Linked DNA regions of Homo sapiens: all the other regions are linked to region 1. The links are contacts of gene promoters, found by promoter capture Hi-C in blood cells and fetal thymus (Javierre and others, 2016). All regions are on one chromosome and are shown on one strand. The core of a region is centred on a gene start or on the middle of the fragment in contact, and the rest is flanking DNA. Distances in the headings are between cores, read along the strand shown.

Region 1 (4,798 bases), core at 1,429-3,928:
CTGGGGTGCTACAGTGCCAGAGGCTACTGTGCCCCCACCCCTGTCCCACCTGGGATTCCTGACACCTCCCAGCCCTAGGGGAAGGCCCTCCCCACAAAGGAGGAAGGAAACCAGCTAAGCGACTCTCTGGAGCCCTGCAGGGGAGCCCTGCACCACAGGCAGGGAAACCCAGGAGTCCTGGCGCCCAGCCCAGAGACAGTGAAATATCTTGGAGGGGAGGAAACAGCCCAGATTGAGGCAGACATGTGGCACCCCCAGAAGCTCCCAGATGTGACCTACTGGCCAAAGGGGCTAGATGAGGCAAAGTGAAACATTTCTGAACAAGAAGAGAGAAGAAAGTGGGGCTATGGGAATGGGGTGGCGGGGGTCAGCCTGGCTCATCGCTGTCCTTTCCTCCTTGTCAGAGTCAGTGACACTGACATTAAGGTCATCGAATATCAACCAGGTCCTGAGGACCTTGGTGTGTTTCCTCCTCTCCTAGTCTCCAGACCCCAGCCTGTTCATTCCTGAGCTTCCTCTGGCACCCCTTCCTTGGGGCCAAGCCAAGTAAGAAATCAGCAGGCCCAAGGTGGTGCTTGGGAGGCCGGGGCAGTGCCAGGGGCAGTCCTCATACCATCCTCCCACTGGCTTCCCTCCTGCCTGCTCTTAGCCGCCACACATATCTCAGCTGTCGAATCCGATTAGGGCTCCTGCCCAGTGAGCCAGACAAGGAGGCCACTGGGCAGGGGAGAGAGAGACAAGGACGCCAAGCAGGGATGGCAGAAGGAAGGTGGAGACATGGCTCAGGGGAGCAAGTATGGGGCCCCAGAGGAAGAAATGCCTGGTGGAGAGATCTGTACTCTGTGACCACAGGTGCTCTGGTAACAGCTACAACCTGCATTAGGGGAATTCTGCAGTAACCGGGGCAATAGCCCTGCCTAGTTCCTCCATCCCCCAGATGGGCAAAGGATGGGGGAAGAAAACTAAAGGCGGAGAGATTGACCTAGATTTAGGAAGAGGATTCCATCCTAGATTCCCCCAGCCATTACTACCGTTTGCAGTGAGCTTTACGATACATTGTCTCTGTGGTTTTAGTGGCAATGTCCCTGCTTGCTACTGATAGCCATTTTTACAAATGGAGAAACTAAGGCTTAGCAAAGGGGAAGACCTATATAAACACATATAGTTAAGTAACCAGTCTAAGTCTCCAGTTCAGGCCTCTGATTCCTAGTTCACTGCTCACAGTCAGAATCTCTACTTTCCTTGTTGGATCAAGACCAGAACGAAGTCTGAAGCCAATTCATTATCCACCCTGTCCTCTAAAACCAACCTTTAGGGGACCCGGGGAGCCATGGAAGAATGCAGAGCACACCCCACACCTAGACAGAGCTACCAGATGGGGACATGCCACCCATTCCTATCATACATTGATTGCTAGAGGAGTTCCCTCAGTGTGACCAGTCTCTTCTATCACCCCCCTCCCCAGTCTACTACCCCCAGAAGCAAGACACACACTCACACATGGTAAGTCAGACAAGGTGTACACCCTTCCTGTAAACCCACCAAACCAGAATGACACGCCCTAGATCTTCAGAGAGCAGGGCCTGTCTGCCCACCACAGGAGAGAAAAATAAGCCACTGTAAACAGTAGGTGCCATCTAGCCCTCTCCCAGAGAGCCTGTAGCGGGGCAGAAGCTTGGGGACCTTGTAGCTCTAGAGAAACACCAGGAGCCTGAGATTCTGAAAGCCAAGAAGCTCAGGGAGCTGGCAAGGCTGGGTGACCTCCTCAATCTGGTCCACACCCCCTTCCCTAGCCATCTGGACTGAGCCTGTTCTGGCCTGGGCCACACTCTGGTATCCCTCCCCTTCAATGCATGCAGCCACCTCTATCCAAAGCTTCTAGATCTTACAACCACATTGTCCCTACACACACACACACACAGGTGGGGTCGGGGGGCTTCTGCAGCAGGTGTTGAAATGTTGACATGGATGGGGGCTCTAAGCTGAAAGAACTTTCCTAGAGGAAAAGCTCACCAAAATGCTCACAACCTCCACTACCCTCTAGCAAAGCCTTTAGCCACCCAAGTGTGAGATGAACCTGGAAGGGGACATTAGTTCCCCTACAAGGTGTGTAGGGAGTAGGGGCAAAGTCCTGAGCTCTTTGGGTGAGGAAGCAAGAAAGAAATCCCTTGGGAAAGCTCAGGTCCCTCTCTGGCTCTCTCCTCTCTCTGTTACCTCAGCACTTGCCAATTCTCCAGTCTAGGTGAGGTGGGGGAAGGGGTATTAGGCAATACCGCAAAGGAGGGTGCAAGGGCGTGGGGCCTGGGCAGACCTTCCCCCTACTCCCCACTCTTATCTAGAGAACGGGAACTGCCTCAGGAGAAATGCAGGAAGGGTGCTGGAGGGTGCAGAGGGCTCTGAGCTTTCAGACACCCCACTGTTCCCAGGCTCCCACCTCCCAGGACTACAGTGAGCGACGGGAGAGGAGGGATGGGGAAAGCCAGAACTGGCGAGAAGGAAATGGCTAGATCAGAAGCAGAGGCCGGGGTCAAAGGCGGCCAAAGAATTGGGAAGGGGTGTGCATGGTCCTACCTGCTCAGGTGTGTGCTGGCAGGGGGCCGATGGGGTTCCCAGGAGAACCGGGGAAGCCCTCTCAGCTCGATTCAGGATTCCCCCCTGCTTCTGGGTTAGGCTGCTGCAAGAGGCACGGGTTCCCGTTGGGTCCTAAAGCCCACTCGCCAACTAGAAGGCTCTCCCCGCCCTCTTCCACCAGCCAGCCCCGACTGGGTCAGCGGGCGCAGAGCGAAGGACTGATGGGGGAGAAGTAACCCACTGGAAGAAAGATGGGCGTCTGGTCATCGGCTGGGGACAGGAACAGTTCCCTGTCTCAAATACACAGCATATGGATAACTCGAGGATAGGATGACCTGAAACAGGAGAAAATAGACATTTCTTCCTGCCTGCCCTGAGCAGATGGATTTAGGTTTTGGTGCTGGAGGTGGGGTTAAGATCTCTTTCCCTGCCACTCCTGCTAAGGCATTCAGCTAGAGATTTTGGAAAGGGAGCATTCATTTTGGTTGGGCGCTCACTTCTGTCCTCTTCCTCATGGACTGCAGGAGTCCCTTCATCCCTCCCAATTATTCCCAAGGACCTAGGAGGCCATAGAGGGTGAAAAAAGATTTTCAGCATGTAAAAAGTGCAGGCTCACTTAGATGGCAGCTGGAAACAGGGGAAACATGTAGGACCAATGTATGTGTATCTGGGAATGTGTGGGGTCTGCAAATACACATATATAGGCAAGAGTATAAACAGGTGGGGTTAGGGAAGGAGAAAAAAACAAAAAAGAACTTTGGGTTACACCTATTACTGGAAATGGTAATTGTCAGTGGAAGAACAGGACGTAGAACCTAGAGGTCAACTAGTGCCCCTACCCAGCCCTCAGTAATGTCCCGAATCTTTATGACCAGAATAAACAAGTTAAAGAGAGAATATTTTCCTAGATACCATTTAGGATAAATATAGGGGCAGAGGGACCTCAATACAACAGATCAACTTCAAGGTCACTGATTCAGTTTAGTATAGCCAGTCTTCTCAGTAGCTCAAAAGGGAGAATTCAGGTTTGGTGGGCTAGATGGGCAAGAGAAAGCTGGATAAGAATTCTGAAGTTGTGGATTGAGAACATTTTGCAAGGAGAGTTGCACATATCTCTAGCAGCAGAGCAGGGAAAACGTCATGAGGGGAAGGGCCAGAGGAAGTCAGCGACAGACTTGAGGGGAGAGGGCATGGCCTCTCCCTAGAAGGGGAGAAGACACCAGCAATGCCTCCACCTCTGTCTTGCAGGAAGAACTGAGTAAAGGAGCTGGACTAAGGATGGAAGGCCCCAGGGTGGAGTCCATGGGGTGAGTTTAGGTCAAACCTTTCACCCTAATGTGCCTCAGTTCTCTCCCAGCTGTTAAACAGGGCTCTTCGTTCTTCCCAGGCAGTTAATGAGTGTTTACAAAAGGGTTTGGAGATCCTCAGATCTCAGCTGGGCCACCACTACAGTTATAAAGTTCAATAAGAGCTGAGTGTTATTTGGGGAGGAGAGGAGTAGGGGAAGGAAACAGATACTCTCTTATAAACTAAGGATAAAACTAAGCTCAGAGAGAAGCACAAGCCTAGCTGCCACAGGATATCCTTGTGCCCATGGATGGAGGTCACCCCACCCCCCCATCAACCACCACCAAAGGCTGGCCTCCAGCTAGCTGTAGGCAGAACCCAGACTAGCAGCTGGTCTTCATTAACTCCAGCTTTTTCACCCCCCACTGTGAACCCACAGCTTCTACAGGCCTAGGCTAGAGGGGGCTGCCCTAGCCCGACCTTGCAGCTGACACTGGGGTGGGGGGCACCGCACCAAAGGCCAAGTTACCAGCTGAAAAGAAAGTTGAAGCAAGAGTCCTTTTTCCCATTGGGAGCAAGAAGAAAGCAGTGTGGGGGTGAGAGGGTGGAGGTGGGGGAATTTAGGGCAAACAGCAGGCAGTGAAGTCAGCTGGATTGAGGCCCAGAAACCCCCACACCCTGGGGCCAAGTCTTACTCTAGCTTTGCTTTCAGCTTAAGTCTTGGCGAGGCCCCAAACTAGGGAAGGCCCTGGTTGCCCCTTTCCGCCTCCCTACCCCCACCCTTATTAAATACACATTTTATCTCTCAGCATCTTCATTATCTTAACTGAAGGAGACAAGCAGTGGATGGCGGCAGCAGAGAGCGTCAGGAGCGGGGGGCGGTGCGGGGAGCAGGCGCACCCTTGTTATAAAGTGCTGATCTAGCTCTTTCAGGCAGTGT
Region 2 (4,858 bases), core at 476-2,975, 280 kb before region 1:
ACCTTTACTCTTTGATAAGAGAGGAGACTCAATCTTTTTTTTTTTTTTTTGAGACGGGGTTTCACTCTTGTTACCCACCCAGGCTGGAGTGCAATGGCGTGATCTCAGCTCACTGCAACCTCCGCCTCTCAGGTTCAAGTGATTATCCTGCCTCAACCTCCCAAGTAGCTGGGATTACAGGCATATGCCACCATGCCTGGCTAATTTTTGTGTTTTTAGTAGAGACGGGATTTCACTATGTCGGCCAAGCTGGTCTCGAACTCCTGACCTCAAGTGATCCACCCACTTCGGCCTCCCAAAGTGCTGGGATTACAGGCATGAGCCACCGCGCCCGGCCTTGGATCCTACTTCTGACAGCATCTGTTAAAAGAGAAACTGGCCGGGCGCAGTGGCTCAAAGTGTAATCCCAACACTTTGGGGGGCCGAGGCGGGTGGATCACCTGAGGTCAGGAGTTCGAGACCAGCCTGGCCAACATGGTGAAAGCCCATCTCTACTAAAAATACAAAAATTAGCCAGGCATGGTGGCATATGCCTGTAATCCCAGCTACTTGGGATGCTGAGGCAGGAGAATCACTTGAACCCGGGAGGCGGAGGCTGCAGTGAGCTGAGGTCGTGCCATTGCACTCCAGCCTGGGCAACAAGAGTGAAACTCCATCTAAAAAAAAAAGAAGAAGAAGAAAGAAAAACCTTAGACAAATTAAATTTAACAGTTTGAGCAATGAACGGTTTGCAAATCAGGAAGCCTCTTGAGCCAGAGTAGGCTCAGAGAGACTCTAGCATGGCCATGGGGTAGAAGAAGGTTTATGGACAGAAAATGGAAAGTGACCTACAGAAAATGGAAGTGAGGCATAGAAACAGCAGGATTGTTTATCTTAGCATTGCCTTATTTGAACATAGTCTGTACAGTTGGCAACCTTGGTTGGCCAAAACTCAGTGACTTGCACAGGAGTAGGTTACAGTCTGTTCACACATCCAGTTAAGTTGTAGTTCACTATGTATGGAGAAACCTTTAGGCTGGACTTAGAATATGTAAGAAGGCAGATTTAGGCTAAGCTTAATTTAACAGGGCTTTCAGTGGTTGTGAAGTTGCATTCCTGCTTATCAACTAGTGTGGTATGGGGGAAAGAGGATGGATGGGGGAGTTCCATTCCTGGTTTGCTGCAACTAGCTATGAGCGTCCTTTGGGGAAGTTCTTAACTTCTCTGAGTCTCCATTTTCTTATCTGTAGAATGGACATCACAGCTGCTTAACTTGCAGGGTTGTTGTGAGATTAAATGAGGTGATTCAGGGTCTGGTATACAGTAGGTGCTGAATAAGTATTAGCTCCAGTTAATCCTCAAACAGTATGTAAGAGCGTTGACATTGGTGGCCTGCCTATCACTCTGGGAGCTCCCTGAATCCTGGGCTGTGGTGCCTTGCGCAGCCTGAGAACTTCCCCACAGCAAGGACCTCATGAGCATTACATGAAAGCTAAGACTGATACTGAAATTTGAGGATCCCCTTGATCAACCTAGCCAATGATTTTTCCCTACCTAAGCACACAAGGGAAAAAGAAATAAAGAAGGTAGAATATAAAAATCCTTGCAAATTTCCAAAAGCTGAAATTTACACCCCTTGCAATATTTCCATTTACTATCAGTTTCTGTCTAACCCAGGCAGACATAAAAGGCCTCTAACTGGATCTAAACCAATTAATTATCAGATCCAACTCAACTCAAAGAGTGGCCACTATTTTATGCACTCTGAGTGTAGCCTGTTTGGGGTCAAATCAACAGAAATATCCTTCATTTTAACTTAGCACTCTTTGGCTGAGCACCAAGAATATGCCAGGTACTGTGTTAAATATGTAAGAAATAAATAAGATGCCACGTAATGGTAAGCTGATAGAGGGAGAAAAATGCATGCATGCCCATGATACAAATTTGACTAAGAGGTGCTATCCTAGCAGTGTGAACAGCATTTGTGGGTTCAGGGACTTCAAGAATTCTTCAGGAGGTGAGAGTATTTGAGCTGGGTCTTGAATAATGAGTTAGAGTGTGACACGGGAGAGAAGGAGCTGGAGCCACCTTAGCCTGACAGAAGAGCATGTGGAAAATCCCAGAAAAATGAAAGTGCACAATGCTTTTAGGGAACCCACAGGTCACTCGGAATGGCTGGAGCACAAAGTAGCTACAGTGGGGGAGTAGAGAGATTGAGGTCAGTGATGTCAACTGGGCCAGATAGAGAAGGGCTTTGAATGCCATTAAAAGCACAAGAGGAGGATGAAATAGATATGGTCTCCTTAAACAGTTGTATGGGGAGGAACAGGAGGGTTTCAGGACTCCACCTTTCACCCATCTTTTCTTTCTGACCAAAGCTCTACTGGGATTTCCTAAATGTGCATAACCTAAGCTTCTCTGAGGCCACAGTCCCACTAGGAGATGATCAATGGAATCCCCAAATGTGAGACCAGAGAGGACAGACAAGATCATCTGGTTCAATCCCCAGATAAGGAACCAGGAGAAAAGGGCCTCATGGAAATTTGGCTGGCAGAGCCAAGACTGGAACCCCACACACGTTTTCACTGCAACAGATGGTCTCAGGATCAATGAGCATCAAGATACCTGGGCTTTCTAATCATGTTTAAAATGGACAATTTCAATCCAAGTGGGAATCATGGCGGATGGGAGGCAGGACTAGATTGCAGCTCTGGACAGAGCAGCCATGTGGAGGTTTGCATTGTGAATTTTAGCTCCAGATCAACTGCAAGAACAAACCAGCCACCCTGAGAGGACCCACAAACCCTCTGAAGGAAGCGGACTGCTCCTGCAAGACCCAGGAGACAACCCAAATACTCTGGGAGGTAAAAAGCCTCAGGCAAGTTTTCAAGCCCATCTCGCCCTTCACCTGGAAACAGACTCGGTGCTGTAGGGGGAGGCACGGTGGGAGTGAGCACTTGGGTTTGCATGGGACCTGGGTGAGGCCTGTGACTGCTGGCTTTCCCCCACTTCCCTGACAACCTGCATGACTCAGCAGAGGCAGCCATAATCCTCCTAGGTACATAACTCTAGTGACCTGGGAATGTCACCCTCATCCCCTACAGCAGCCACAGCAAGACCCACCCAAGGAGAGTCTGAGCTCAGACATGCCTAGCCTCTCCCCCACCCAATGGTTCTTCCCTGTCCACCCTGGTAGTTAATGGAAGACAAAAGACATATAATCTTGGAAGTTATAGGGCCCCGCCTACCGCCAGTCCCTCTCCACACTACTACAGTTGATGCTTTCTGGAAAGTGCCACCTCCTAGCAGGAGGCCAACCAGCACAAAAATAGAGCATTAAACCACCAAAGCTAAGAACCCTCATGGAGTCCATTGCACAGCCTGCCACCTCCACCAGAACAGGTACTGGTATCCACGGCTGAGAGACCCAGAGACAGTTCACATCACAGGACTCTGTGCAGAAATCCCCAGTACCAGCCCAGAGCCAGGTAGACTTGCTGAGTGGCTAGACCCGGAAGAGAGACAATCACTGCAGTTTGGCTTACAGGAAGCCACATCCACAGGAAAAGGGGGAAAGTACTACATCAAGGGAACACCCTGTGGGACAAAAAAATCTGAACAACAGCCTTCAACAGCCCTAGACCTTCCCTCTGATAGAGGCTACCCAAATGAGAAGGAACCAGACAACCAACCCCAGTAATGCGACAAAACAAGGTTCATCGACACCCCCCAAAAATCACACTAGTCCACCAGCAATGGGTCCAAGCCAAGAAGAAATCCCTGATTTGCCTGAAAAAGAATTCAGGAGGTTAGTCATTAAGCTAATCAGGAAGGGACCAGAGAAAGGCGAAGTCCAATGCAAGGAAATCCAAATAATGATACAAGAAGTGAAGGGAGAAATATTAGAGGAAATAGACACCTTAAAGAAAAAACAAGCAAAAATTCAGGAAACTTTGGACATACTTTTAGAAATGCAAAAGCTCTGGAAAGTCTCAGCGATAGAATTGAACAAGTTGAAGAAAGAAATTCAGAGCTCGAAGACGAGTTCTTCAAATTAACCCAATCCAACAAAGACAAAAAAAAAGAATAAGAAAATATGAATAAAGACTCCAAGAAGTTTGGGATTATGTTAAATGACCAAACCTAAGAATAATCGGTGTTCCTGCGGAAGAAGGCAATTCTAAAAGCTTGGAAAACATGTTTTGGGGGAATAATCAAGGAAAAGTTTCCTGGCCTTCTAGAGACCTAGACATACAAATACATGAAGCACAAAGAACACCTGGGAAATTCATCACAAAAAGATCTTCACCTAGGCACATTGTCATCAGGTTATCCAAAGTGAAGACAAAGGAAAGAATCTTAAGAGCTATGAGACAGAAGCACTAGGTAACCTATTAAAAAACAAAACAAAACAAACCTATCAGATTAACAGCAGATTTCTCAGCAGAAATCCTACAAGCTAGAAGGGACTGGGACTCTATCTTCAGCCTCCTCAAACAAAACAATTATCAGCCAAGAATTTTGTATCCAGCAAAACCCAGCATCATATATGAAGGAAAGATACAGTTGTTGTCAGACAAACACATGCTAAGAGAATTCATCATTACCAAGCCACCACTACAAGAACTGCTAAAAGAAGCTCTACATCTTGAAACAAATCCTGGAAACACATCAAAACAGAATCTCTTTAAAGCACAAATCACACAGGACATATAAAACAAAAATACAAGTTAAAAAGCAAAAATAAACAGAAAACAAAGTACGCAAGCAACAAAGAGCATGAGGAATGCAATGGTACCTCACATTTCAATACTAACATTGAATGCAAATACCCTAAGTGCTCCACTTAAAAGATACAGAACCATAGAATGGATAAGAA
Region 3 (4,667 bases), core at 1,385-3,884, 320 kb after region 1:
GAGCCAGCAATTCCTATCCTAGGTATGCAAGCCAAGAGAACTGGAAACTTAGGCTCACATAAAAGCATGTACACGAATGTTCACAGAAGCATTATTCATAACCAAAGAGTAGAAACAACCCAGGTGCCCGTCAGCTGATGAACAGATAAACAAAATGTGGCACATCCACACGAGGGAATATTACTCAGCCTTAAAAAGGAAGGAAGTACTGACACACACTACAACATGGGTCAACCTTGAAAACATGATGCTAAGTGAAAAAAGCCAGAAACCAAGGGCACACGGTGTGTAATTCCATTTACATGAAATGTCCAGAGTAAGTAAATCCTCAATAGAGACAGGGCAGATTAGTAGCGGCCAGGGGCTGGGTAAGGGGAAAATGAAAAGTGACTACTAATACGTATGGTGTTTCTTTGTGGGGTGATGAAAATGTTCTGGAATTAGGGGTGGATATACAACTTTGGGAATATACTAAAACCCACTCAATTGTAGTATACTTTATTTATTTGTTTGACGGAGTCTCGCTCTGTCACCAGGCTGGAGTGCAGTGGCACAATCCCGGCTCACCACAACCTCCGCCTCCCTGGTTCAAGCAATTCCCCTGCCTCAGCCTTCTGAGTAGCTGGGTCTACAGGCACACACCACCACGCCCGGCTAATTTTTTGTATTTTTAGTAAAGACAGGGTTTCACCATGTTGGCCAGGATGGTCTTGATTGTCTGACCTCATGATCTGCCTGCCTTGGCCTCCCAAGGTGCTGGGATTACAGGCGTGAGCCACCATACCTGGCCTGTAGTACACTTTAAAGGGGTGAATTATATCTCAAAAACAAACAGCCAAGTACAGTGGCACGTGCCTGTAATCCCAGCTACATGAGAGGCTGAGGCGGGAGGACTACCTGAGCCCAGGAGTTCAAGACCAGCTTGGTTAACATAGCAAGACCCCATCTCCAGTAAAAACAAAACAGTGGGCCAGGCGCAGTGGCTCATGCCTGTAACCCTAACACTTTGGGAGGCTGAGCCCAGGAAATCACTTGAGCCCAGGGGTTGGAGACCAGCTTGGCAAGAAGGTGAAATCCTGTCTCTACAAAAAAAATGCAAAGATTAGCTGGGCGTGGTGGCACATGCCTGTAGTCCCAGCTACCCAAGAAGCTGAGGTGGAAGGATCACTTAAGCCGGGGAGGTCAAGTGAACTGTGATCACACCACTGCCCTCCAGCATGGGCAACAAAGCAAGACCCAATCTCAAAAAAACCCCCAACCAAACAACAACCAAAAATAGTGTGGTAAGGAAAGGAAACAAACCAGGGAATTAAGGAGTGCGACTTACTTCCTGAGTGTGCTCCTGTGACAGTGGCTATGATGAACAAAGAAGCTGGCCCTAGCTGGGGGAGTGGTAGAAGTGCAGTTTGCAAATGGAGCTATTAGTCCATAATAACAGCTACCATTTATGAAAATATCACGAAAGCTTACTATATGCAGATCATTGCGCTAAGTATTTCTAAACAAATTATTTTATGTAACGCTAACCATCTTGTAAGGTAGGCACTATTATCCCCATCTTACATATAGCTGGGAGAAATTAATTTGCCTAGGGTATGGCTGGGATTGGAACCCAGGTCTTTCTGTCTCCAAATGCCCCTACTTTTCCCCAAGAATGTACTACGCTGGTATCCCCCACAGACCGGTACAGCATGACCACTGCAAGCCCTGTCCCACAGTGCCCAGAGCAAGAGTGGGTTCTCCTGGGATGTGGGATCAAACGCATACCTCTATGGGGAAAGAGTGTGGGGGACAGTTCTTAAGAATCAATGATTATTTCCATTTCTTCACCAGGGACCATCTCCCCGCCAAACCCCTTGCATCACTTGGGGCTTATGAATCGCTCTCACTGCATCCTGGATACCTCTTTGTAGCGCTTGCTGTTCATCATGAAGATGACCACGAGGAGTTGGAGATAGGCTTCCACTTCAGGCAGGAGGGGTGTCGACGCAGCTTTTCCCGTGCGGGGACGGAACTGTAAATCAGCCTCTGTGTCCATGGGCTAGGAGAGGACAGAAGTTACCATGGAAAAGCTCAGTCTGATCAAGTAACCAAGAATTTATTGAGCATCCACTATGTATTTCAACATATTTATTGAGTGTCTACCATGTGCCAAGATTTTGTTAGGTGCTAGGGATAAAAAAATAAAGATTACAGTCTTTCCCAAAGAAATCAAGGAGGAGCTGGGTGTGGTGGCTCACGCCGGTAGTGCCAGCTACCTGGAAGGCTGAGGCAGGAGAATGCTTGAGGCCAGGAATTTGAGACCAGTCTGGGCAACACAGTGAGACCCCATCTCTCAAAAAATAAAAAAGAACTAGCCAGGCATGGTGGCATGCACCTGTATTCCCAGCTACTCAGGAGGCTGAGGCAGGAGGACTGCTTGATACCAGGAGTCTGAGCCTGCACTGGGCCATAAGTGTGCCACCGTGCTTCAGCCTGGGTGACAGAGCAAGACCCCATCTCAAAAAAACAAAACAAGTCAAGGAGGCTGGCAATATAATATTAATAAACACAATAAAGTGTTACAGGAGAACAAAAAATTTCTTTACACAACATAATGGAGACAAAGGACGATGTAAGGAACCTTCAAAGAGGCTACAACCTAAGTGGAGACATTAAACCACCACACCTGGATCCACTGCAAATACTACTGGACAGGGCTGAACGAAATAATTCTAGAGATGAAATCAGAATAATGAGACCAAAAAATGGTTTCTTGTGGGAACAAAGAAAATTTAGGGAAAGTCAACATATAAACAAAACATATTTTCCTATGTTGTCACTGACACTGGAAAAAATAATGTGTTACAGTCACCCCCAAAATAATCACGTTTCGTGAGTTTAGCGATGTGAAGGTCAGAAAATATTCAAGGTGGAGTTGGGGGAACAGTACGCTTTTCCCCTTTCCCAGACAAGAAACTCTTCACTGCCCTGCCTCCAGGGATGTTCTGAGTTTCCCCATCCACGGAGCTGACTGAGTATACAGGATTTTAAGGAAATGCAGGTGCTGGAAGGTCAGTGGAATTGGAGAAGGCTGAGACCTGGCCCATGCCATGAATCATGAGGGAGAGTTTACAGCTACAGAGGATAAGGAGAGGTCTCTCCTGGCACGGAGGCGCCACCACCACCACCAAACTGACTTCGTCTGCATTCACTACGTACCAGGCACTGCTCTAGGAGCTTTATACTGCCCGCTTCCCAATCCGTTCATCACGTTTAACAAATGAAGAAAACGAGGCACAGCAAAATGAAGTCACTCGCCCAAGTCCCACAGGTACTAACTGTCAGGGTTTGGATTCAAATTCAACTCTACCTCTAAAATCTGTGGGGTTTTTTTTGTTTTGTTTTGAGGTAGGGGGGTCACCCTGTCACCTAGGCTAGAGTGCAGTGGTGCAATCTTGGTTCACTGCAATCTCCACCTCCTGCATTCAAGTGATCCTCCTGCCTCAGCCTCCCGAGTAGCTGGGACTACAGGCAGGTGCCACCATGCCTGGCTAATTTTTGTACTTTTTGCAGAGACAGGGTCTCACCATGTCGCCCAGGCTGGTCTCAAACTCCTGGGCGGGCAGATTGTTTGAATCCAGGCTGGACTCAAACGATCTGCTCGCCTCAGCCTCCCAAAGTGCTGGGATGACGATGTTAGCCACTGTGCCCGCCTCAGCCTCCCAAAGTGCTGGGAAGACAGGTGTGAGCCACTGTGCCTGGCCCTGACAGCTGTGCTCCTCCTAACCACTGTTCTCTACCTCCTCCATGGTGAAGCTTCAGAAGAAAGAGGCAGCAGCACCTTCTCTCTCCTAGAACAACAGAGAGGTCACCCAACGCAACCTCAACTGGAGTAGGGGGTACAGGTTGCAGGGTAGTGGGAAATGAGTTTGGCTGGGAGGGTCCTGATCCCCTGACTTTGAAGAATGACACTACAGGGCAGTGGACGGTTCCCTTGTCACTGTGCAGATGAGTATTCAAATGGACTGCTTTGGCTTCTCTCCTCATGCTACCACAGGTAATAAGATGGGACTTTAGGATGGAAAACAATGCTGTTCCTGGGGATCTGAGGCCAGGCCTGCACCCTTTAAGTTGGCCTGACTCACTCACCTCTTCCAGGAAGGGGAGCAAAAAGTCTCGAGTGGCATTATTTGAAGTGAAGAAGCCCTGCACAGCCTTATACAGAACATAGTGGTTGAGGCGGCGTGATGTGGAAGGCAGCATCCGCAGGGCCCGCAGCACGAATCTCGGCTCCTTGCCTGAAACCGCTTTCTCTAGCTGTTTCACGTGCTCCTTGATGTCTGAAGAAGAGCAGAGAAGAAAATGATGTCACTTTCACTCCTAGTCCCCCACCACTCCAGGCAAGGAGTTCTTTTTTTTTTTTTTTTTTTTTTTGAGACGGAGTCTCACTCTGTCGCCCAGGCCGGAGTGCAGTGGTGTGATCTCGGCTCACTGCAAGCTCTGCCTGCTGGGTTCACACCATTCTCCTGCCTCAGCCTCCCGAGTAGCTGGGACTACAGGCACCCGCCACCACGCCTGGCTAAATTTTTTGTATTTTTAGTAGAGACGGGGTTTCACCGTGTTAGCCAGGATGGTCTCGATCTCCTGACCTCGTGATCTGCCCGCCTTGGCCTCCCAAAGTGCTG
Region 4 (4,704 bases), core at 1,941-4,440, 320 kb before region 1:
CAGAGGACTATCAAAAGATAGACATTGCCAGGCGCCATGGCTCACGCCTGTAATCCCAATACTTTGGGAAACTGAAGCAGGAGGATCGTTTGTGGCCAAGAGTTTGAGACCAGCCTGGGCAACACAGCAAGACCTTATCTCTACAGGATACTTAAAAATTAGCTGGGCATGGCGGCTTGTGCCTGTAGTCCCAGCTACTCCAGCTGAGGCTGAGGTAGGAGGATCAGTTGAGCCCAGGAGTTCAAGGCTGCAGTGAGCTATGATCATGCCACTGTCCTCCATCCTGGATGACAGGGCAATAACCAGTCTCAAAAAAAAGAAAAAAAAAAGAGGGCATGTGCAATTATCCACACAAGACAATGAAGGCTTTTATTCAGTGAGAGCCTCTTCATCATAGGATAAATAGCTGTTCAATTAGATCATAACCAGAGAAGCCATTCCCCCAAAAAAGGAAGCAGACGACTAACATGCAAAGAAGAACAAGCCCAAATTGCTTAGACCTTATGTCCCCATCTGTGGTCAACACTGGGGCCATATAAATGAAAGAAGAAAACAAAAGCTAACAACAAAAACAGATAACTTAGACAGATGTAGCACAGATGTACCATATATAACCCTAAAGGTGAAAAACTCTTAAAAAGTAGAAAGGTTACAGAGTTTTAAAAAAACTGTATCTTACCCAGTAGTTTTAATTTCAGAAGTTTATTTCCTAAAGAAATTACTCAAAAGGAAACAAAAGTAATTTTTTTAACTTTTTACAAAAACAACAGTTTTTAGCTGTAGTATTTATAATAATGAGAATTTTAGGAACTACTTAAGTGCCAGACAATAAGGGAGGTGCTAAACTGACATAGCAGCGCAACATAGGCCTCTGTAACAGGGTTTCCCCTGTAACAAGGTTTTCTTAAGTGTGGTTCCTCCCTGTCTGGTGGGTCACTGAGGTGATTAAGTGGTTCAGAGAGGAGCGTTTGTTTTAATATGTATTACTAAAGAGAAAGCTCTTTTTTTTTTTAAGTGAGTTAGTTTAAAGAAAAATATTAAGTAAACGATAGTACAGGCTGTTAGTAGATATATGAAAAACTATGAAGGTGATAGAGCAAAGACTGAGATTAAGGAAACACTAGATAGCTATTAAAAATAAGCCTGTAGTGTGTGTGCAGTGGCTCACACCTGTAATCCCAGCGCTTTGGGAGGCCAGGATGGGCAGATCACATGGGGTCAGGAGTTCAAGACCACCCTAGCCAACATGGTGAAATCCCATCTCTACTAAAAATACAAAAATTGGCCGGGCGTGGTGTCATGCGCCTGTAATTCCTGCTACTTGGGAGGCCGAGGCACAAGAATCACTTGAACCTGGCAGGTGGAGGTTGCAGTGAGCTGAGACTGGGCCACTGTACTCCAGCCTGGGTAACAAGAGGGAGATTCTGTCTCAAAACGAAACAGAAGCATATAAACCAGACCCATACTGTATGAACTTGGGTCATACCATTACACACTGACAACAGCTGGCTAAGTGTAAACTGACAAAAATTAAATTTGGAATCAGACATTTATTTTTCTTCTATAAAATTACTTGAGGGCCTGGGAAACTGAATATTGTTAGAGGTGATGTATTCTCTGCTGTCATAATTTTACAAATGGGCATTTTCATTCATTTTTAAAGTGCTACAAGTGACAAAGTCACTGCCCAGTTCATATGTTGTTCATTAGTTGTTAAATGCCTTAAGTTACTACCAAGAGAGTGAAACATTGGGCAGAATTTCAATTACTGCCATCACATACAGCCTTCACATTGATTCCGAAGCCAGAAGAGACATGTTGTATCTCGTTTATGTTTTAGCCAAATCCTTCTCAGACACAACATTATCACTTAAAGACTGTGAGATAAATTACTACCTTGGCCAATGAACACATTACGTCCTCTGTATGGTTTTTATCAAGTAACTGCCCCAGTGCTCCCATGACGCTGGGCAGGTCCACTTGTTAGGCCAGTGAGGGCCATAGTTCGTTGGTAATTAAGTGTTAACATTGTTACACTCCTTTTTATGGTTACTGGTGACCTGATTTCCAGAACAATTTGTTCACTCCAGATTATGATGATGGCTTTTCAATGAAGCATACAGCCACCGCCCGTTTCCAGAGAAACCACCGCCTCATCAGTGAAATTCTTAGTGAGAGTGTGGTGCCAGACGTTCGGTCAGTTGTCACAACAGCTAGAATGCAGGTCCTCAAACGGCAGGTCCAGTCCTTAATGGTTCATCAGGTAAAGTCATAAAACATTCATTTCAATAAGATGTGCCTATACCACAAATCCCAGGTGATATGATTCCTACACCATGCCTAAATCTACCTGTTAAATATGTCAATCTAACCTGTTCCTGATTTGGAGAAGAGGTTTAAGGAAGTGGACCTTTCCCAGATGTTTAATAAGTTTGTCATTAAAAACTATAATATAGAACCTTGTAATGGAAAGTATATTCGTTAAGAAATACGTGTGAACTTAAGAATTTTGAGGCATCCTATCAATCTTTACTGCTATGCTAAATATTTTTTCCCAAGGAATTGCTCAGGCCTGAAACAGTATTCTTTAACATTTACCTATTGATCATAATCATTTCTTTGTGCTGCATTTTGTATTTTTTAAATCTTAGCTAGACTCATGTGATAAATGATCTAAAGTTCAAAACATTATTTGGTACACTGTTTGAAAGTATGGACCATTAAAAAATGAGACACAATTATGAAGCCTGATCCTGTCTTGCAGCGAAAACTAGAAGCTGAACTTCTTCAAATAGAGGAACGACACCAGGAGAAGAAGAGGAAATTCCTGGAAAGCACAGATTCATTTAACAATGAACTTAAAAGGGTATCTGTTTAATATGTTAACTATACTTTTATCACTATACCTGTTACTTTATTTTTCCTCATTCTTTTTTCCAAAATAGTGTTTTTATTGAATGTTGTTCACTTTGAAACAGGGCTAACTTTATTATAAACCTGTAGGATCCTTTTTTTATAAGATTGTTCCCATTCTCTGGCAAAATTGCAATAAATTTGAAATATCATAGAGTATACACATATCTTCTAGGCCTGTAAATGCTAGAGCCCTCTGATATGTTAAACTCCCATACAGTCATTAATTACTTTCATTTTATTGTGATTTATTCATCAAATGTCGTCATTAAATGTAATTTATAATTTGCACTTTGCATTCAGACAAGGAAATCTAGTTGGTAGCCCAAAATGTAAAACGGAAGCCTTATGTATACCCCAGAACTTTCACTATTTTGCCTCACCAGCTGCTCTGGAATATCCTATATTATACAACTGCTAGAGCTGCTGTTTTTTCTTGTAGACCCAAGAGTTTCAGAGAAGACCTAGAACCACATTTTTTTGGCACACACACACACACATACAGGTGTATAGATATATATATATAGTTTATAGGCAAGAAAACCAACTTTTGAAAGAATATATCTGGCTCAAAAATTATAAGGAAAAAACATTACGGAGTTCTGTTTTTTTCTGATTAGTTGTGCGGTCTGAAAGTAGAAGTGGATATGGAGAAAATTGCAGCTGAGATTGCACAGGCAGAGGAACAGGCCCGCAAAAGGCAGGAGGAAAGGGAGAAGGAGGCCGCAGAGCAAGCTGAGCGCAGTCAGAGCAGCATCGTTCCTGAGGAAGAACAAGCAGCTAACAAAGGCGAGGAGAAGAAAGACGACGAGAACATTCCGATGGAGACAGGTAACCCACTAGCAACAAACGCAGAGGCAGTGCCAAGACTTTGTACGGCTGTCTTTAATTTAGGTTTTTCTTTCTAAGTGCAAGTATTCTGGTACCTGCCACTGAGGGTGATTCCCAGTACTAAATTTGACATGATATTGACATTCAGTATTTTAACCTTTAAATGCTTACATTATTTATCAAGATGTGGTTATTACCGTTAAGATTAATTGTCTTTGGTGTCCTAGGACAGCATTCTGCAAAGTAATACCTGTAAGCCAATCCTGCCCACCACTTGTTTTTGTAAATAAAACTGGAACACAGCCACACTTGTTTGTTTACATACTGTCTGTGGCTGCTTTGGGGATAAAACAGTATAGTTGAGTAGTTGCAACAACAACTGCCTGGCCTGCGAAGTCTAAAATATTTTCTATCTGGCTCTTTACAGAAAAAAATTGCCAGCTCTGTCCTAGAAAAACCCTTACTTCTAGGTATACTGATTTTCCTGATTAAAAGCATCCCTCAAGGTAAAAAATAATAATAATAACTTGTATAAATAAAACTTACATAAAGTACTGATTACATTGATCGTCACTTGTAATTTTGAGATCACCTTACCTCATGGCACTGTTTTAACACTGCCTAGTACACTGTGTAAACAGGACTAAGCTAAAAGTAGTTATGGAAAACAAAACCAAAGGCTTCCTGGAGCATCGTTGCAAGAAGTGGGAGGGACAGTAGTCATACTTGGTACTCAGATGACAACCATCTGGAAAACATGTAATGGAATATAGATATCTTTACCAGGTATTTCTGCAAAATTTAATCCAGCAGATTAACATTTGAAATGGTCATATTTTAAGTTTCAGTATCTGAGTCTCTTTCTGTTTTGTATGAATGTGTTTTTTATTGTAATGAATTTGGAGCATGAGCACATTTTTGTGGTTAAAACGAGCTTGAAAATTAAAATAACTGATTTTT
Region 5 (4,745 bases), core at 2,138-4,637, 340 kb before region 1:
TAATCTACCAGATATAGAAGTCAGGCTTATCATGAGAAGATCATGCAGTATTCCCTCTATCAAACCTCCATCAACAGCTAATTAATCCAAAGATAGTATTTGACTTGATTGGAAAATGTTAGGATGGACCAAGGTGGGCCATACCAACTCCCTCTGTCCCAAAATGTAAGTTATTACGTATGTATGGAAAATGTTATGATCAATATGTGGTTCTCTTCAGAAGAAAAAAACAATAAAGGACATTTCTCTGAATCTAATTATGGAGATAGACATATATATATATATATGAATGAGAGGGAGTAGCTTAAAAATAAAATCACAAATCCAGTACAGTCTCTTTCTTTATATTCTCCCAATAGTCTTCTTTTTCCCTTGAAACTTCATCAGAGACTGTAAGCATTAACCTGGTTTAGTAAAGTCTTTGTAATTTTTTTCAATGGCTGAATACGCTAAGGAAAAAAGAATTGTTTGAATAGGATTGTGTTAAGAGTCACACTGAGTTATTCACCATTATTCCATGACTGGTTAAACCTACAATGTTTGTTCTATTTTTCAAAAAGAGCAATTATAAACAAGTTTTTAAAGGGGGACTCACTATTCACCTAATGAGGATTCTTCTTTTTGAGATAAATCATTTGTATACTGAGAAAAATGAGTTATTTTCCATGAGAAATTCTGAGCAAACTATAGAACACACCCCAGGGCTAATTTGAGATAAGTACAATTAAGTTAATCTACATATATCTAAAAGGTTTTTTTTGTAATAAGTATCTGATTTCCGGAAGATTTACTTTACTCAAGGAACTTTAAAGGTTGTATCCCCCACCAAAAAAAGAAAAAAAATCAGAAGGCCAACTGCGCAAACAAAACATGAAAAGCAAATTGAAAAGGTAGTTACTATAGTTATCAGAACAGTTACCCACCATCCCAGTTTTTCCAACTGTAAAGCTAAATGTGATTAGATTGTTTGCTATAAGCCGTAGATAAGATACTATATGAAGTATTATAAATATTTCTTGCAATCATTTATGTGAACTAAGATAACGGTATTGTTATCTAAGCTAAGAGTATTTAGAGGATTTGTTTTTAAATCGTTCAAATTGTAATAAATATGGGTAGAAAATATATTTGTGAATAAGTGAGGTATTGTTGCAAAGTTTTTAAAATAACCTAATTTGTTTAATACAGGTATATTTAAGATCTTAATAAATACCTGTTTTAAGACATTAGAAATTTATAAGTTCTTAATTCTTTTCTAAGCAGAAAAAGTAGCTGAGTACAACTCACCATACTTTTTCCCAGCTAAAGTATCATCTAAGGGCTATAGCTACGTTAGCATTTTAGTACAGCCTTTAAAATATTTCTCTCTCTCTCTCCTCTCTCTTCTCCTCTATCTCTCTCTCCATATATACTTATTATATATATACATATATATAATTTATATATATGTATATATATATTTCAACCAGAAAAATGTATGTTTTAACCAGGAAAATATTATGTTAAATAATCTTTAACATAATACAGGGATATAAAATTTTTAATTTTCTTTCAATTACTTCAGATTCCTTTTAGTCTGGTTTATTCTATTTAGTGAAAAGGGATGATTTTGTTTTGTCAAGGATATAACAGCATGTTAAGTGCTTATTCTTGCATAAGCATCTGACCTAAAATACATCCTATACATAAAAAATGTTTCATTTGATATTGCTAAATGCTACTAACTTTATTAAAGCTTTAAAAATGCAATCATATAAGCTATTGTACTAAAGTTACTGTACTAAGCAACAGTGATCATAATAAAGCAATATATCTAGCATAATCTATTGCAGTGTTAAAAAAAACTTAGTACTGGTCGTCATGAATGTAACTGCTTGTTGTAGCAATTCCAGTATGCATCTATTGGGTGTATAACATGTAGATTTTAAAATACAGTATTTGAATTTATAATGAAGCTTTATTTGCTTTGGGGCATTTTAAATTGGGATATGAATTTACCAAGGTAATGATTCCACTACAATTAAAAAAATGAAACATGGCCAGGCACGGTGGCTCATGCCTGTAATCCCAGCACTTTGGGAGGCCAACGTGGGAGGACTGCTTGAGCCCAGGAGTTCAAGGCCAGCCTGGGCAATATAGCAAGACCCCATCTCTCTAAAAAGTAAAAATAAATAAAAATTAAAAATTGAAAAAATTGAAATATGAATGCTAAAGCTGCATTGTATGTGAGTTTGAACGCAGTCCTTTTAGTTCAAAAATATCTCTGCATGGTTAAGTGAAACAAAGAACTAATTACTCCAGTATGGTTAGTTCATTTGGGGAATAAAGAAAACTGCAATCACAGTAGATAGATAATGGTTTTTAACTTGTTTTACAAAAGAGTTAAGAATGGTATATCAATATTTTATTCTAGTTTTTTAAAAATCAAAATAATCACATAATCCCATAGTTCTGGAAAAAGTTTAATAATGGCAGCACCATTTGCAAAGCACTTACTCAGCTCTAGGCACTGTGTTTATCCCTAATAATCCCTAATCCTTCCTTACAACAATCCTACAAAATGAATAATATTATCCTTGCTTTACACATGAGTAGAAATTAATATTCTTTAATCTCTCTGAAATGTTTCAAATGCATGCTTCCATAAAAAAATACAAAAATAAAGAGTAATTCCAGTTACTAACAATTGTAGGATCCTAACCCTGGCTCTGTCACTAACCATGTAACCAGGAGGGGCCACTTTAAGTTCCTAGGCCTCAAGTTTTACACTTGAAAACAAAGGAAAAGGTAAAGCTGGATAATAATTCCTACTCTACCTACCTTACAGTTGTTTGAAATAATATACAAGCAAAAATATTTGTTAAAGCACTGCTCAGATATACAGTACTATTTGGAAGAAAATTGTCTTTAAAGAATGTGTGGGGGAAATTACAGCGGACAATGATTAATAGTTCAAAACACAACAGGTAAAGATACTATTTTTAATTTTTCAATTGCTTCCAGAACAGTTATTCTTTCCCAGTGAGTCACCCAATTTGAACTGTTCTGTCATGATAGCTTTTAAAGTACAAAAAATGTTCTCTATGCCAAGCACAGTGTCTAAAGTATAAAAATGTTCTCTATGCCAGGCACAGTGGCTCACACCTATAATCCCAACACTTTGAGAGGCCTAGGCAGAAGGATTGCTAGAGCTCAGGAGTTCAAGCCCAGCCTGGGCAATACAGTGAGGCCTCGTCTCTATTAAAAAATTTTAAATTAACCGAATATGGTGACACACCAGTAGTCCCAACTATTCAGGATGCTGAAGTGGAAGAATTGTTTGAGCCCAGGAGGTGGAAGATACAGTGAGCCAAGATCATGCCACCGAACTCCAGCCTGGGTGACAGAGTGAGACCCTGTGTCTCAAAAAAAAAAAAAAATAGTTCTCTAAAGATAATAAGTGATTATTATTTTGAGCCACTAAATTTTGGGATAATTTGTTATGCAGAAATATACAACTAATACTGCACATAAGCATATTTCTTATTCATTTGCTAGAGATCTTTGTATTGGCAAAGTTCAGTTTGTCCTTCAATTTGTTTTCTTACGTTTTTAGAATTTTTTAAAAATCTGTTGGCCGGGCATGGTGGCTCACACCTGTAATCTCAACACTTAGGGAGGCTGAGGCAGGAGGATCGCTTGAGCCCAGGAGTTTGAGACCAGCCTGGGCAACACAGTGAGCCCTCGTCTTTACCAAAAAAAAAAAAAATCAAAAACTTAACCCAGTGTGGTAGTGTGCACCTGTAGTCTGAGCTACTCAGGAAGCTGAGGTGGGAGAATTGCCTGAACCCAGGAGGTCAAGACTGCAGTGAGCCTAGATTGCACCACTGCACTCCAGCTTTAGGCAACAGAGTGAGACCCTGTCTCAAAAATAAAAAATCTCTGAAGTCAAAAAATGCTTACATTAATTTGAAAGTTTCCATTGGAAATGTATTATGATACATGAGCCAAAATTAAATTTTAGTTAAACAATATGCATACACGTTACTCAAATTATCAACACATGAAATCAAAGGAAAGTTTGTCCACAGGGCAGAATTTGGTTCTATGTTTACAAGTTATGGCCGGCATGTACACACAGATTGCCAATATTTGTGGGCATATGACAAATAAAGGCTCTAAAATAAGGTATATGTGAAAATCAGTACAAGGCTTTCCAAGTTTCCCTCACATGCTTAGACTCTAGACCAGGCTTGGCAACCTTTTCCATCGAAGCCCAGAGAGCAAATATTTTAGGCTTTTCAGGCCATAGGATCCCTGTAACAACTACACAACCCTTCCCTTGTAACCACAAGCAACCAAAGACAATACGTAAATAAATGAAGGTGCTTGTGTCCAAATAAGGGTTTATTACAAAAACAGGAGGCAGCCCAGATAACGGCCTGCAACAATCTCGTTTGGCTACTGTGCCCTAGACTCCCAATATTATCAGTGGATAATAGACCCCACAACCCAGATTCTCCAGCTCTACCCTGTTTTCAACGTTCATCCTTTTCCACACCATGGGGCAACACTCATGTCCCAAATCCTCCAGGTTATTTTGAGGGCAACATAGAGGGTTCTCAAAGCAAACCGTGCTTTTTAAATTCTGTAAAACAGTGTGGATCACTCTGTCCTGGAAAGCTGCTAAACTTCAATATTTCACAACTATTTCCAGCTACAGAAAACAGAATACCCATAACTCCTTCTGCTCTCACAGAAACAGC

What was found. The method cuts DNA at HindIII sites, captures the fragments that hold promoters and counts their contacts. A CHiCAGO score of 5 or more calls a contact.
Region 2: a contact is called between a fragment that was not itself captured here and the fragment with the promoter of RARA in region 1, in 3 of 17 cell types (total CD8 T cells, activated CD4 T cells and naive CD8 T cells). The highest score is 6.3, in total CD8 T cells.
Region 3: a fragment that was not itself captured here is called in contact with the fragment with the promoter of RARA in region 1 in 1 of 17 cell types (monocytes); the score reaches 5.2 in monocytes.
Region 4: a fragment that was not itself captured here is called in contact with the fragment with the promoter of RARA in region 1 in 2 of 17 cell types (activated CD4 T cells and total CD8 T cells); the score reaches 6.1 in activated CD4 T cells.
Region 5: a contact is called between a fragment that was not itself captured here and the fragment with the promoter of RARA in region 1, in 1 of 17 cell types (total CD8 T cells). The highest score is 5.3, in total CD8 T cells.

Annotation. Positions count from the first base shown.
Region 1 is chr17:40,307,060-40,311,857 of GRCh38, reverse strand. RARA (retinoic acid receptor alpha) reads right to left here and starts at 2,678. Exons shown (of 9, transcript NM_000964.4): 1 at 2,572-2,678. RefSeq lists enhancers at 1,482-2,365, 2,677-2,806, 2,817-2,986, 2,366-3,251. The HindIII fragment of the contact is 5,393 bases long and covers 1,878-4,798 here.
Region 2 is chr17:40,587,347-40,592,204 of GRCh38, reverse strand. No RefSeq gene overlaps it. Among named protein-coding and RNA genes, the nearest start is that of CCR7, 24 kb to the right of the region's middle. RefSeq lists an enhancer at 2,384-3,583. The HindIII fragment of the contact is 1,338 bases long and covers 1,057-2,394 here.
Region 3 is chr17:39,983,949-39,988,615 of GRCh38, reverse strand. It overlaps PSMD3 (proteasome 26S subunit, non-ATPase 3), which reads right to left. Exons shown (of 12, transcript NM_002809.4): 2 at 4,132-4,322; 3 at 1,904-2,041. LOC124904000 (a long non-coding RNA gene) reads left to right here. Exons shown (of 3, transcript XR_007065751.1): 2 at 1-22; 3 at 1,834-1,918. Among named protein-coding and RNA genes, the nearest start is that of PSMD3, 5.5 kb to the right of the region's middle. The HindIII fragment of the contact is 2,333 bases long and covers 1,468-3,800 here.
Region 4 is chr17:40,629,754-40,634,457 of GRCh38, reverse strand. SMARCE1 (SWI/SNF related BAF chromatin remodeling complex subunit E1) reads left to right here. Exons shown (of 11, transcript NM_003079.5): 8 at 2,091-2,263; 9 at 2,765-2,866; 10 at 3,534-3,744. Among named protein-coding and RNA genes, the nearest start is that of SMARCE1, 16 kb to the left of the region's middle. The HindIII fragment of the contact is 6,923 bases long and covers 1-4,704 here.
Region 5 is chr17:40,651,742-40,656,486 of GRCh38, reverse strand. KRT222 (keratin 222) reads left to right here. Exons shown (of 6, transcript NM_152349.3): 6 at 1-1,822. The coding sequence ends at 85. Among named protein-coding and RNA genes, the nearest start is that of SMARCE1, 6.3 kb to the right of the region's middle. The HindIII fragment of the contact is 2,860 bases long and covers 1,958-4,745 here.